3 separate regions of the Homo sapiens genome follow, and regions 1 and 2 are each linked to region 3. The links are contacts of gene promoters, found by promoter capture Hi-C in human tissues and cell types (Jung and others, 2019). All regions are on one chromosome and are shown on one strand. The core of a region is centred on a gene start or on the middle of the fragment in contact, and the rest is flanking DNA. Distances in the headings are between cores, read along the strand shown.

What was found. The method cuts DNA at HindIII sites, captures the fragments that hold promoters and counts their contacts. A contact is called where the count stands out against the background at its distance.
Region 1: a contact is called between a fragment that was not itself captured here and the fragment with the promoter of LBP in region 3, in 1 of the 25 tissues and cell types used here (mesenchymal stem cells).
Region 2: a contact is called between a fragment that was not itself captured here and the fragment with the promoter of LBP in region 3, in 3 of the 25 tissues and cell types used here (IMR-90 fibroblasts, dorsolateral prefrontal cortex and pancreas).

The regions. Positions count from the first base shown.
Region 1 is chr20:37,993,480-37,997,919 of GRCh38, reverse strand. TTI1 (TELO2 interacting protein 1) reads left to right here. Exons shown (of 8, transcript NM_001303457.2): 6 at 967-1,171; 7 at 1,458-1,545. Among named protein-coding and RNA genes, the nearest start is that of TTI1, 38 kb to the left of the region's middle. The HindIII fragment of the contact is 9,453 bases long and covers 1-4,440 here.
Region 2 is chr20:37,842,214-37,846,689 of GRCh38, reverse strand. It overlaps CTNNBL1 (catenin beta like 1), which reads right to left. Exons shown (of 16, transcript NM_030877.5): 13 at 4,271-4,351. Among named protein-coding and RNA genes, the nearest start is that of VSTM2L, 59 kb to the left of the region's middle. The HindIII fragment of the contact is 3,893 bases long and covers 1,109-4,476 here.
Region 3 is chr20:38,344,661-38,349,450 of GRCh38, reverse strand. LBP (lipopolysaccharide binding protein) reads right to left here and starts at 2,969. Exons shown (of 15, transcript NM_004139.5): 1 at 2,811-2,969. The coding sequence starts at 2,934. The HindIII fragment of the contact is 17,182 bases long and covers 1-4,790 here.

The DNA of each region.
Region 1 (4,440 bases), core at 826-3,325, 350 kb after region 3:
AGGGAGGTGGTATTGCTAAATCTTATCCAGATGTACTGCAGGGCGGGGTTTGGTGAGAATTAATAGGTTGTCTGAAATAACAGCAAGCATAGAAAAATGAAAAAAAATAAAGATGTGTACACAATAACTGAGGCTGCTTTCCCCATGCGCAGACACGATGATGACACTGAGGTCTATAGAAGCTGTGCCATTCAGCTGAGGGACCTAAAATGAGAGCCTTGTTCTCTGCAAAATGAGCAAACACTGTGCTGGTTATGCCTTGCTTACCAATTTTTAAAGAAATTCCTATTATCCTGTATACTCAGTCTTGTGCAGCAGGGCAAAACATTTCAATATGTTCTGCTAGAGAAAGTTTAAAACAAGACATGCAAAGAAACTATCTGTTCTGAAAGATAGAATGAGGGTGATGTGCATAAGAGATTGTGCAGCTGAACAGAAGGAACACCGAGTCGGCTGCAACTTCAGGGACCCTGCCTTGGTTCAGCCCAGGGACCTCGGCCCAGTCACTAACCTCCTGATGCCTGCATGTGGCAGCAGCTGGACCATAGTATTTGTGTTTGCTCAGCTAGCTAGAGTTTAAAGCATACATATTTTCTCAAGGGATGTTAGGAAGATTCAAGAAATGATCTATGTGAACTGCTTTAAGCTCTTCTCTTTTTTTTTTTTTTAACAAAAATGGGAGGGAAATCAAGATATTAATCATATTATTCATCCAACCCAAGATTCCTTTGAATTATTCCCCATGTAATCTGTATTTATGGGTAGAAGCAGCCATGCCTTGGGAGCAGAGACCTCCAAATTCATAACTGTCAGAATCACAAACCATGGGCAAGGAATTAACAGCAGTAATTCTATTTTTTTTTTCCCCCAAGCAGAGACCTAGATGAAATCGAATTACCAAGCATTCTTTAGCTCTCTTGCTGCCTTGGCAATGTTCACTCACCAGGTTGGAGGCTGTTTCTGCAGGTTTTACGTACCCTGGGAAGCAAGTGTGGTGACTTTCTTCGCAGCCGGTTCTGCAAAGATGTCCTGCCAAAGCTGGCTGGCTCCCTAGTCACCCAGGCCCCCATCAGTGCCAGGGCTGGACCAGTTTACTCGCACACGCTGGCCTTCAAGTTGCAGCTGGCTGTCTTACAGGGCCTGGGCCCCCTCTGTGAGAGACTGGACCTAGGTGGGTACCAGGCAGTTCCACCTGAACACACACACTTAGCATCTGTCTCACCCCTGCCATCATGCCCTCTGCTCAGTCGTGCCCCCCTCCCCTCCCCTCTGTGTACCTCCTTCCGTCTTATTTTGGCCTCATTTGTCCATTTATCTTGATGTGTTCTTTGGCGGGATGGAGTAGAGAGCCCAGAGCATCTTGCCTAGCTGTTGCAGTTTCTCCAGACACAGTTGGTCACTGCTTGTCCCAAATGAAGTGTAAGGGCTGATGCTTGTTTTGTTTTTCTTTTCTGCAGGTGAGGGTGACCTGAATAAAGTGGCTGATGCCTGCTTGATTTACCTCAGTGTCAAACAGCCCGTGAAATTACAAGAGGCTGCCAGGAGGTACGTCTGCCTGATCACCCGCATCCCTTTACGTTTGTTCTAAATTACAGATGATTTGCTAATGGCAAGCAGAGTTGAGGCATCTCTGCTCTTTTCTCTGTCACCCTGCCAGGTTAAGATAATTCTTTAACTGTGCCAGCACTAGAGATGGTATTTTTACTAGATGTGTTTCTCTTTGCCAGTAACCTTTTCCTCTGCTGCAAAGTCAGCAACAATTCCAGAGGGTCAAGAAGCAGAAAGACGGTGTGCTAGAGAGGACTCAGCACCCTCCTGGTTGGAGGGGAATCTGCTTCTAGGCCTGGAGACCAGGTGCCTGGCACTTCTTCATGCCTTGGCTTCTTCAACAGCAAAGTGAAAGTGCTGGGTTCCTGATATGGCATATGTCGACTCCACGGCAGGTCTTAGATGGGCATCGGTGCCATGAACCCTCACAAGTGCAAAGCAAAATTGTTTGTGTGCAGGCAGGTGCACATGTGCCTTTTTCTAATAGGAACCATTCATAGGTTCTAATAGGAATCTGTGACCCGAAGAACCTTAAGAGTTGCCAGACTAATGGCTTAAAGGGCCTTTTCTGATTCTGAAACTAGATGATTCCAATTTCTAAGAGTTTGACCATGCTTATTTGAGAAAAGCTGTATCACCTCTAGGAGAAGAAGCTGTTGCTGGTTACTTTAGGACTAAGAGCTAAAACTCAGCACAACAGCATTCCCCAGACATGAGACCCCAAATCTACTCTGCCCCTCTTCTCCAAGCTTTCCTTCCAGGTGGGAGCAGCCTGCATCCTGGAACTGCCATCCCAGGGTAGGTCTGCTGCTGGGGCGAAAGCTGGGCCTGGCACTCTGTGCCGCTCTGAGCCCTGCAGCTCCTTCAGCCTCACCAGCTTCACGCCTGCAGCGGAATCCCTGCATCTTCCTAGCTTCTAGAGGCACATCTCTGATCCTCTTCAGTGGGGTGGGAGTTAGGAGTCAACTCATTCCCTGAGGAGTGGAAAGGCTGCTCTGACTGTGCAGTGAGGAGAGCCAGCTTGCTCCTTAGAAACCTTGCACTCCCTGGGAGTGATGGTAATATCTTCTTGAATTGATTTATTGTCCTTTGCTGTTTTTTGCTCTTGATTTCCCATTTCCTTTTTTCTTCCTGTCCCTTTCCCGTCACATCCCTTAGTCCCAGAATCAGTCATAGTTTCATGAGCACAGGGGCGCATCCTAAGCAGCTTCTGTCCCCAGGCATTTTTATTCCGTACAGAATCAATTTAGGGTGAAAATAGTCCTCCCTGGGCGGTGCCCCTGGAGCTGATTGTGCTGTGACTTAAAGTGCAACTCAAGAACATAATGAGTTTATCTTGAAGTAAATCCTTTTAGATGCCTATTACAACCAAGAGTTAAAGGTCTGATTTTCACATTCCCCATCCATTCTATTTTTCCTACACCCACTCCATCCCATCCTTCAAGTTTAGAACCATCAAATAAGCTAATATTCTCAATTCATTATCTTTTCATTTCTAGTTCTCTTTTTTGCTGCTGAAAGCAATTAAACCCGGAATTGGACCTTGCTGAATCTTGAGCTGGTGTTCAGGGAGCCTCAGGTGGAGGAACACGCAGCCCCACCACTTGACCGCAGCTCCCTTTGTTTGCTCCAGCACATTCCGTTCAAGTGTTGAGTCAGATGGCCTCCCTCCTGATGGGCAGGGAGGGGGAGGAAGAGCTAGGTGGATTGCTTCACACATGTCACTTGCAAACTTATCTTGAAGTTGGGAAAAAAAATCAGTCTTGATCCTTGATCAAGAGCTGATTTGGCATCTTGATGCTGAAATTAATAAGCTCTCTAAGTGGGAGAAGAAGCCTGAGACAATAGGAAACCTGGTCTCTCTGTGAGCCTCATTACCGCATGGAGAGAGGGGTGGGTGGGTGGGCCACTTAGTATGGAAAAGTCATACCTGGCAGCTGGGTGCGGTGGGTGGCTTACGCCTGTTATCCCAGCGCTTTGGGAGTCTGAGGCAGGCAGATCACGAGGTCAGGAGTTCAAGACCAGCCTGGCCAACATGATGAAACCCTGTCTCTACTAAAAATACAAAAAGTTAGCTGGGCATGGTGGCAGGAACCTGTAATTCCAGCTAATTGGGAAGCTGAGGCAGGAGCATCACTTGAACCTGGGAGGCGGATGTTGCAGTGAGCCAAGACCGCACCACTGTACTCCAGCCTAGGTGACAGAGTGCAGTCTGTCATACCTACTAGTACTGAGGAACCAAGTCCCCTGCATGAGATGGAGTCCCATCTCAGCACATGGCCCTGCCATCCATCCTGTTGTTTGTTCTTAATTCTTCTCTTTCCTTCACACCCTACATCCATGACCAAAAGTAAAGCCCGCCTACCTCACTTGGAAAATTGCTCTCAAAACGACACCTCCAAACCACTAGGCCAGGCCAGGCCACCATCATCTCCCACCAGAACAACAGACCTCACCACTGGTCCCACTTCCAGTCCTGCCCCTCTAGGTATTCTCCATACTGCAGTCAGAGTGACACACTTACACACACTTACCCTCATGGGAGAAGAGAAAGCTGTGTTCGTTGCAAGGGCCCAAGTGGGAACCTTGGCTTAGTATTCAGAAAAGCCAGAGGTAGTGAGTTTCCGACCCTAGGCAGATGACCAGCTTGCTTTGGAAGTGGCTCTCCTGTCTGCCAGAGGGCTGGTGAGGGAAGCTCTCAGGGCAGGAGGCTGCTCCCAGGCCTCCTGTCTTCTGGAAGGAGAGGGATGTGCACCAGCCCTGTAGAACAGCCATGTCTGTGGGCCCCTCTGGCAGGTGGGCTTAGGACCTCCAAGGGGCGCCTTCATCGAGTTGGGGTGGAGGCAGACTTAGCAGCCCCATGAGAGTTCATCTTTATGTGCATCATGCTTG
Region 2 (4,476 bases), core at 1,806-4,305, 500 kb after region 3:
CATGCAAAACCTTGCAGCAGCAGGGAATCAGGACAGTGGGTATGTACACATGTGCGGGGGCGGGGCAGGGGGACACAAACAGTCCTTGTAGAGAAAAGAAAGCTAAAGCTTCTCTGACCACCTTCTGTGTGCCAGGCCCTGTGCAAGCAGCTTTCATGCATAATACATTCACCGACACCATATCCCTACATACATAACTTCTCAAAGTACACAAACTGGGACATACACCTTAAACACAAAACAAACACCATCCAGAAAGAAAATAAGGATAGGGCAGTTCAACTGTTTGCCCACAGTCGGAGAACCAGGATAAAGCCTGGCTATAAAGCCCACGCTCTTCCTCTCACACCCTCCACTCGTGGAAGGTACCCTCTTCTCTCCCCCTTCACTTGGCTTCCCACTGCTGCTCCTTTGCTGTTTCACTCCAGGCTGGAAATGCCCTAGATATCCCTACCTTTTTAGGTTCAGCACGAATGCTCAGCCACAAAACTAGCCCCCCTAGAGTTTAGGGTGACTCTAGCCTTAGATGACCTCTCCCCACTCCCCGGATCCTCCAGCCCTTGTCTGCGGCACCACCCCTAGGCCCATTCTTTTCTTGGCACTTTTGCTTCTCACCCCCAGCTGGTGCCTGGCCTTGCACATTCCCAGAGCGGGCACCTCATCAACATTTGCCAAATGACTAGATTCTCTCCAGTGACCTGGGCAACTGCAAACCATGGGCACGTGCACTGTGCCCAGAGAAGTCTGAAGTTCACAGGGAAGGTGATGGCTGAGACAATAAAAATACCAATACTTGAGCCTGTTATCTTAGGTTTTTTGGTTGCAGACTTGGTGAGGTATGTGAGAGATTATTCACTACTGATCTGATAGTCAAAGTCTTCAAAATGCCTGAAAAATAAGCATTCAATTCAAGTCGACAAATATTTGCTAAGCTCCCAATTGGTGTAGGACATTCAAATTTAATGGGGGCAAGGAGACAAACTGTCTGCAACCTCAGAGAGAAGACGGCATGAGGCAGAGGTGAAAAGGAGGTCGTATTGTTCTAAGTCACTTTACACCTGTGAGGCGGCTTCATCTGCTAGGATGGCGCCTGAGTGCTAGCAGCAAACACTGCTCACAAACGCATCCCTCACCCCTACCTGCCCTGGCTCTCTGCGTAACACTGAGGCTGCTGAGCACTAATGGCCTTGGAATGTTTGCCAGTGCCCAGCAAAACGGCCTTGGCATCAAGGAGACAGATGTTTGTCAGGGAACAGCACGGCCTTGGTGCCCGTGGCACACAGCAGCTCTGTGAATGCTGGGAGAGTGGCTGCAGCGATTACTCTCCGTCAGTGCTAATCAATTTCACACCCTCTTCAATGCTGATAATAGATAATCTTTTGGGAAGCAGGCCAAGTTTCCTAACAGCTATGTGCAAACTGCTCCCTGACACCCAGCCACTTACTAGGTCTCCCTCAAAAAAAGTCTAAGCTGCACCTCAAATAAAGCATCTGATGGTGCCAACCCTCTCTTCTGCTAGGCGACTCCTTCTGGCAAGGAGGACGCTCTCAGGAAAAGGACTGCTTACTAAAAAGGCTTACTAAAAGGCTTACTAAAAAATTACACAAGAATTCCAAAGGAAGCTAGGAAATTCTAGCAGCAGCAGCGGCGGGAGCTTCTACTTACTGAGCAAAGTACTTTCTATACTTTATGCTTAGTCTTCATAATAACCTTTAACGCGAGGTGTTTTGTTTTTATTTTTTGAGACAGGGTCTCGCTCTGTCACCCAGGCTGGAGTGCAGTGGCACAATCTCGGCTTGTTGCAACCCTTACCTCTCAGGCTCAAGTGACTCTCGTGCCTCAGCCTCCCGAGTAACTGGGATTACACGCGTGCGCCATCATGCCCAGCTAATTTTTGTATTTTTAGTAGAAATGGGGGTTTTGCTTTGTCGGCCAGGCTGGTCTCAAATTTCTGACCTCAAGTGATCTGCCCGCCTTGGCCTCCCAAAATTTTTGGCCTACCCTAAAAAGGTAGGGATGTCTGGCCTCCCAAAGTTCAGGTGTGAGCCATTGTGTCTGGCCCAAAAGGGAGGTGTTTTTATTCTAATTTTACAGATGAGAAAACAAAGCTTAGGAAGGTCACCTCGATTATCCAAAATCTCAGAGCTAGAAGTGGCAAGATTACCTTTTCTACTAGACCGTTGCACCTCTATCTAGAAGACCAGTCAGTCACTGACCAACCTATCACTGCGCTTTTAATTCATTCCATTGTCCAAAAATGGCAGAGTTACCAAACGTTGTTTAACTTAACCTGAGGGAATGAGGGAAAACATGAAGCTTGAGGGGTTGGATCACCTTGGCTAGTATCACTTTATAGGCCAGAAACTGAGGCTACATGAGGCATAGTGACAAGCAGTGATTTAAAGGTGGTGCTTGCTCTTAAATCCTAGGTCCCCTGACTCCCAGGTCTTCTCTTTGCCACCCCTCAAAACCTCCCTAGCAGATAACATCGGGGATTCTGTCAGGGCTGGAGTTCTAACTGTCTCATGGCTTTTTCCTTACAAAAGTCCAGGGAATTTCAAGTTGTTTCTAATTATCATTCAGATAAAGAGAAGGAGTACATTATTCCCACAATTTAACAACCACTGAGTGTCCTTCACGTCCAAGTTACTGTATAGGGTAGAAAAGATGGAAACGGAAAGTTTAATTAAAGAACAAAGGGGTTGGGGTGAATTGGAATGAAAGAATTGTGGTGGAACATGCTAATATCTAAAGTGCAGCCTCAGAATTTAGAGTCTCTGCCTTTTATCTTGCAGTAGTATCACTGTATAAAAGAAGAAAGCCCCAGTTAATCAATTCAATCAATCCGCAAACTTCTGAGGACTTACTCAGTTTAGGGATCATAGGGAAATCACAAGAATGAAAAGCACAGCTACCTATCTGCTGGTGTTCATGAATGATACTAGCCAAGGTGATCCAACCCCTCAAGCTTCATGTTTTCCCTCATTCCCTCAGGTTAAGTTAAACAACCTTTGGTAACTCTGACATTTTTGGACGATGGAATGAATTAAAAGCGCAGTGATAGGTTGGTCAGTGACTGACTGGTCTTCTAGATAGAGGTGCAGCAGTCTAGTAGAAAAGGTAATCTTGCCACATTTTATGAAAGGGAAGAGGTGGATAAGAAGTGGCAAAGAGAAACAGGACAGATAACAAGGTCACTGTCTCCCCACATCCCCACAGCCCTAGTCTCTCACTCTGGCCTGAGGCATGCCCCGAGGGAAAATGCTGGTGTAATTCCCAGTGCAACACGGTAGCCTTAGCTGGATGATCCCAACACGGGAAGGTGGGGAGGGCTATACTAAAATCAGTCCTTCCACCAGTGAAGTTCAAAAGCCTCAAGTGTATCTTTAAGAAAAGACTGAAAAGGATGGAGTGATGCAGCAAAACAAGATCACAAGGAAAATGAGGTCTCCTGTAGACTTGGAAAAAAGTAAGCCAGGCGTCATTTTATAATGTGACTGAAGACTTGAGAAGTGTCTTGTAGGGGAGCGAATACAAATTGGACATTAAACAGTGATAGGAAAACTTACCCTGATTAAGGAATACAGATGGAAAGCTACAGTGGCCAGAGATGGTGGAGAACAAAACGGAAGGAGGTGAAAAACACAGAGGGTGGGATAACACCATAGTAAGCACAGCCCCTCCAGAAAAAACATCCAGCAGGTGTCACTTCTCTTAGCAACAATCAACATGAGAAAACAAGGGTCAGCCCTTCAGAACCTGCGGTTTGGCTTGGCTGCAATGCATCTGAGCTTCCGTTCTCTAGGTCTCCAGTTTTCCATCTGTAAATGGGGTAACTGGATTCCAGGACCATTCAGTTTCCTTCCAGCTCCTCTACGCTGTGATCACCCTTCCTCAGCATGCCTCCTTCAGGATTTCAGAAGCCAGCAAGTGTGAGTACTAAGACATGCTCTGCCAACATGGTACCAGGTCACAGCCTTGTACTTTGGCCAGATTTTCGAAGAGAAGCTCTTGTCAAGGGTGCCTGTGCTGTCCACCCAGACTCCCAGGTCAGACCTGGATGGACGCTACACATACTTCTTCCTGAAAGGGTGTCATTCGTGTCAGAAGAGCAGTCGTAACCACTTGGCAGACCATCATCTGCTCTACTTCTATAACATGTTAGATGGCACTGCTGCCCTTACCTATCCTGTGGGGTGATGGGAGGAACACAAGGGACCCAAACGGAGGGCAAGTCAATAGCTGGCAAAAGTGAGGCAGGGATACATACGTGTTTTTCCCCTTCAATCTTCTTGTCCGCCACCTGCATTGCACCCAGATATTTAAAATGCAACTCCATTAGTCTGTCAACCTGAAAGAGAGATTTCACAGGCTTGAGTGAGAAGGAAAGACAACGCACAGCAAGAGAACAGTGGCACTCCTATTCATCTCACTGTCGCTCCCTTACAAAGGGAGACCCGCTCTGGCACTCCTTAC
Region 3 (4,790 bases), core at 1,720-4,219:
CAACATCCTTATTAGCATTAAGTACAATGACAGGATATGAGCCCCTCTGTGTGCCAGGTAGCATGAGGGACATTCAGAGGTGTCCCTGCATTTCTGTGGCATTGTTAGGTTCATGCCCATTTTACTGATGAGGAAATGGAATGCCTTTGCCAACAAATCCCCAAGGGCAAAAGTGCTGTGCGCTTGGACGGATAGTCCTCCTTCTTGTTCTCCATGACATCTGGCCTGTGTAGAAGAAACTGGAAGGATCTGGGGGCTAGAGAAAGAGGGCATCTTTCTAGCTGGGTGACTTTGACAAAGTCCCCAAACAACCTTCACTTTGTTCATCTGTCAAATAGCAATGACAACAATACATTTGCTGGGCGTGGTGGCTCACGCCTGTAATCCCAGCACTTTGGGAGGCCGAGGAGGGCAGATCACCTGAGGTCAGGAGTTCGAGACCAGCCTGGCCAATATGGTGAAACTTCATCTCTGCTAAAAAATACAAAAATTAGCCGGGCATGGTGGCAGGCACCTGTAGTCTCAGCTACTCAGGAGGCTGAGGCAGGAGAATCACTTGAACCCGGGAGGCAGAGATTGCAGTGAGCCGAGATCGCACTACCGCACTCTAGCCTGGGCGACAGAGTGAGACTCTGTCTCAAACAAAACAAAACAAAACAAAACTAAACTAAACTAAACTAAACTAAACTAAACTAAACTAAACTTTCCTCATTGGCATGCCATTGAAACTGCAAAGCAAGAAGGGGGCTGTGAGGATAACAAGCACTCCTAGCTTGGTGCCTGACACACAGCAGGCACTCAGTAAATGCCTGGAACAGCAAATAGGGTTTATATTATTAAAAATATGGAAAGGGGTCGGGCGCAGTGGCTCACGCCTGTAATCCCAGCACTTTGGGAGGCCGAGGCGGGTGGATCATCGAGACCATCCTGGCCAACATAGTGAAATCCTGTCTCTACTAAAAATACAAAAATTAGCTGGGCGTGGTAGCATGTGCCTGTAATCCCAGCTACTCGGGAGGCTGAGGCAGGAGAATCACTTGAACCAGGGAGTCGGAGGTTGCAGTGAGCTGAGATTGTGCCATTGCACTCCAGCCTGGCAACAGAGTGAGACTCCGTTTCAAAAAAAAAAAAAATATGGAAAGGACCAAAATGTCCAACCTCAGAGGACTGGTTACATAAACATGGTGTGTGTGCACAGTGCAAAGGAACAAAAGAGAAACTTCCCTGATTTACAGTTTCAATGCAAGTAGCAGTTACCAGGTCCCACTGTTCCGAGATCTGAGGGGCCCAGGTTTCTGTCCCCAAGGCAGACATGGGTACACAGATGACCAGCAGCCTCCCCTTTCACCTCTTTCCAATTTGCTCTTCTCCCTCTAGCAAACGCACATGTTGGGGTCCTTCCGCCTGGAACGCTACCCCTTGTCCCTGGGTAATTCCCACTGTCTTTTCCATTTTACTATATCCTGGAATCCTTCCCTGATTTCCCTCTGCCTGTCTCGAGCCAGTCTGGGCTCCCAACAACCCTATCTAAGGGAATGTTGTTATCTCATTTAATAGGTAAGGCAATTGAGGCTCTAGGGATGTGAGAAGACATGTGGTCAGTGCCTGTCCATATCCTTGAGTCTTTCCAGTGAGTGACAGTTGACTCCCAGCTGCCAATGTCTGCCTCCCTGAGCCTGTATGTCCCGAGGCTTTTTGTCCTGGAACTGCAGAAAGCAGGTACATGCAACAGGACAGAAGTGCTGGGGAGTTGACAAACCCCCGGCCCAGAAGCCCTCAATCAATCACTGTGGTGTATAAATATCCCAGTTCCCATGCCACCTGGATAGTCGGGAGGCTTTGTTTCAGTATTTAAAAAAAAATACTCCTACTTTTGCTCATTCTTTGTTTTATTTTTATTTATTTTTTTGAGACAGTCTCCCTCTGTTGCCCAGGCTGCAATGCAGCAGCATGATCTCGGCTCACTGCAACCTCTGCCTCCCGGGTTCAAGCGATTCTCCTGCCTCAGCCTCCCAAGTAGCTGGGATTACAGTTGGCTGCCACCAAGACTGGCTAATTTTTGTATTTTTAGGAGAGGCGAGGCTTCACCATGTTGGCCAGGCTTGCCTCGAACTCCTGGCCTGAAGCTATCCACCCACCTCGGCCTCCCAAAGTGCTGGGATTACAGGCGTGAGCCACTGTGCCTGGCCTGCCCATTCTTTAAAATTGAGGAATAATATACATAAAGTACCTAACGGGCACAAATTTTAAAGGTATTGCTAAATAATTTTTAATGTTTATACAGGAATGTGATCACCACCTGGATCAAGATATGGCAACTTCCAGCACCCCGGCAGACCTCCCTCATGCCCTTCAGGGTCTCTGCCTGCCTCTAGAGGTGACCACAATTCTGACTTCCAGTTCAGAGGCATGTGTTTCCAAACTTTACGCAGAATTTTCCCAGCTGAGTGGTTCCCATCATCAGAGGTGGTGGCTGGTTTAATTGCACACTCTCTCCTGGCTGCCCTCCCTTCCTCATCTCAGTACCGATTCCCTACAGTGTTTCCTGGAATCATTTCCCAAATCAACTACTTGCACGCAAAGCTGTGTTCTGTTGGCTGGTGGAGGACCTCACTACCACAAATAACATGCCCAGGGCACTCAGCTGGTGGGCAGTAAGGCCAGAATAGGAGCCAGAGCCACCTGACCCAGAAGGTGGCACTGCCCCAGGGAGAGGGTCCGGTCTGTGTCCCCACTCCCTGTCCCCACTGTACCCAGAGCAGCCTGGAGCGTGGGTTTGCCAAGTCCAGCCAGCAGATGTGGCTTCTTACCATACTGCAGTCCCTTGTCGGTGATCCTGGCGACCAAGCCGGGGTTGGCACCCAGAGCCTCTGGGGTGGACGTAAGCAGCAATGCCAGCAGTATGGACGGCAGGGCTCTGGCCAAGGCCCCCATCCTAGATTCCCAGTGCAGTGGGCCAGGACTGTCCCAGCTGTGGATTGGGCCCAGGTCCCTTAAGTAGCCAAGGCTCGATGGCTGGGGGCAGTTCCTGAGGCTGGATGGGTTCCTGGGAGCGGGAAGGGGAGGCACAGGGACTGGAACCTGCTTGCGACATCACTGAAGTCATAAGGTCATACTTAGAAGCCAGTTTTCACTGCCCAGATCAGTGGATGAGGAAGCCTGACTCCTATGATCATCCCTGTCCACCCTCCCCACAGAAAGACCCCATATTCATCACTGTTCATCTTGCCTCATCTCAGCCAGTCTCTTAAGAGCTCGGCTAGGAAGGCCTGGTTTAGCAGATGAGGAAACTGAGGTTCAAAAAAGCCACATAGCTCCCTTGAGATCTCACCCCCAGCAGAGGGCAGGGTTGAGAGTGAAGCTACATCTGGCACCAACCAAACTCTCTTTTTTAAAATATATTGGCTCGTTTATTTAAAAAATAAATGTTTCCCCCAATGGGAAAACAGTGTTTCTCAAACCTTGCTGGTGGTGAAATTTTCTGGAAGGCAATTGGCAAATGTTTAAACAGTTGCATGCCCTGTGACCCAGGAATTCAATTTCAGGGACTTGCCCTTAAATACATAATTGAGTCAGTGTGCCAGTAAATCACTGCTCCAAGATACCACTGCTATGCTGTGGGAAACAGGACAGGAGAAGTGAGACCCAACCTCATGTATCCACCAGAAGGGCATTGGTTAAATGAATTATGACATGCCCCTTAAAGTGAGGCTGCAGAAATAAAGGTATTTCTTGGCAAGGAAAGGGATGTCATGAGGCATCCGTTTCCGATGGCACCATAGAGTAAGGTTCTATTTTGGGGGGTTCAAAATAGGCTTCTATGTTCAACAATCTGGAAAATATTTAGCAAGGAGTCATGAGGCATTGTCTCTGGTTGTGGGGGTAGAATTATAAGTGTTAAAAAAGTTTTTGCTTGTTGATACGTACAATTTTTTTTTCTTTTTTCATTTTTTGAGACAAAGTCTACTCTGTTGCTCAAGCAGGAGTCCAGTGGCATGAACATCGCTCGCTGCAACCTCAACTTCCTGGGCTCAAGTGATCCTCCCACCACAGCCCCCTAAGTAGCTGGGACTACAGGTGTGAGCCACCATGTCCAGCTAATTTTTTGTATTTTAGTAGGGACGAGGTCTTGCTATGTTGCCCAGGCTGGTGTCGAACTCCTGAGCTCAAGTAAGCCTCCCGCTTGGCCTTCCAAAATACTGGGATTATAGACTTGGGCCACCATGCCCAGCCTCTAAAATTTTTATTTTCTTGGGGGTATGGTCCCGGGCATATATTCGCAGTAAGTAAAGATAGTAAAATTTCATTCTGGAAAACAAAATTTATAGTACAGACTGTGTTTAATTTTTAGAGTTTTGCCCCAGCCCTGCTTACATTTGTGAGTTCTGCTTTGCCCTCACCCCCAGGAAGCCTTCCCTGACCACTCCCATGCTTCTCTGGATTCTAGAAAGGGTCCCCTCTGAGGTCCCAGAACCCTTTGCGCTTTCCCCACCACAGCATTAACCACTCTGCTTTTTGATAATTGTGGTCCTTTAAAAATATGCCCACGAATTCTTTGATATTCCTTCCATCAAAAGGTAATGTTTCTGCCCCCTTCCCTTGAAATTGGGCAGGTTTTCATGATGGCCTCAACCAACTGAATGTGGTGGGATTAACAGGGTGACTCCCAATAGGTCACAAACAGCACTGGCAGGCACTGAGGTTAAGATCAGAATGTCCCACGTTAAGCACAGGGAACCCCACAGTCCAGGCCTCTCTGCTCCTCTGTACCGTGTTGCTCCTGTCACTGG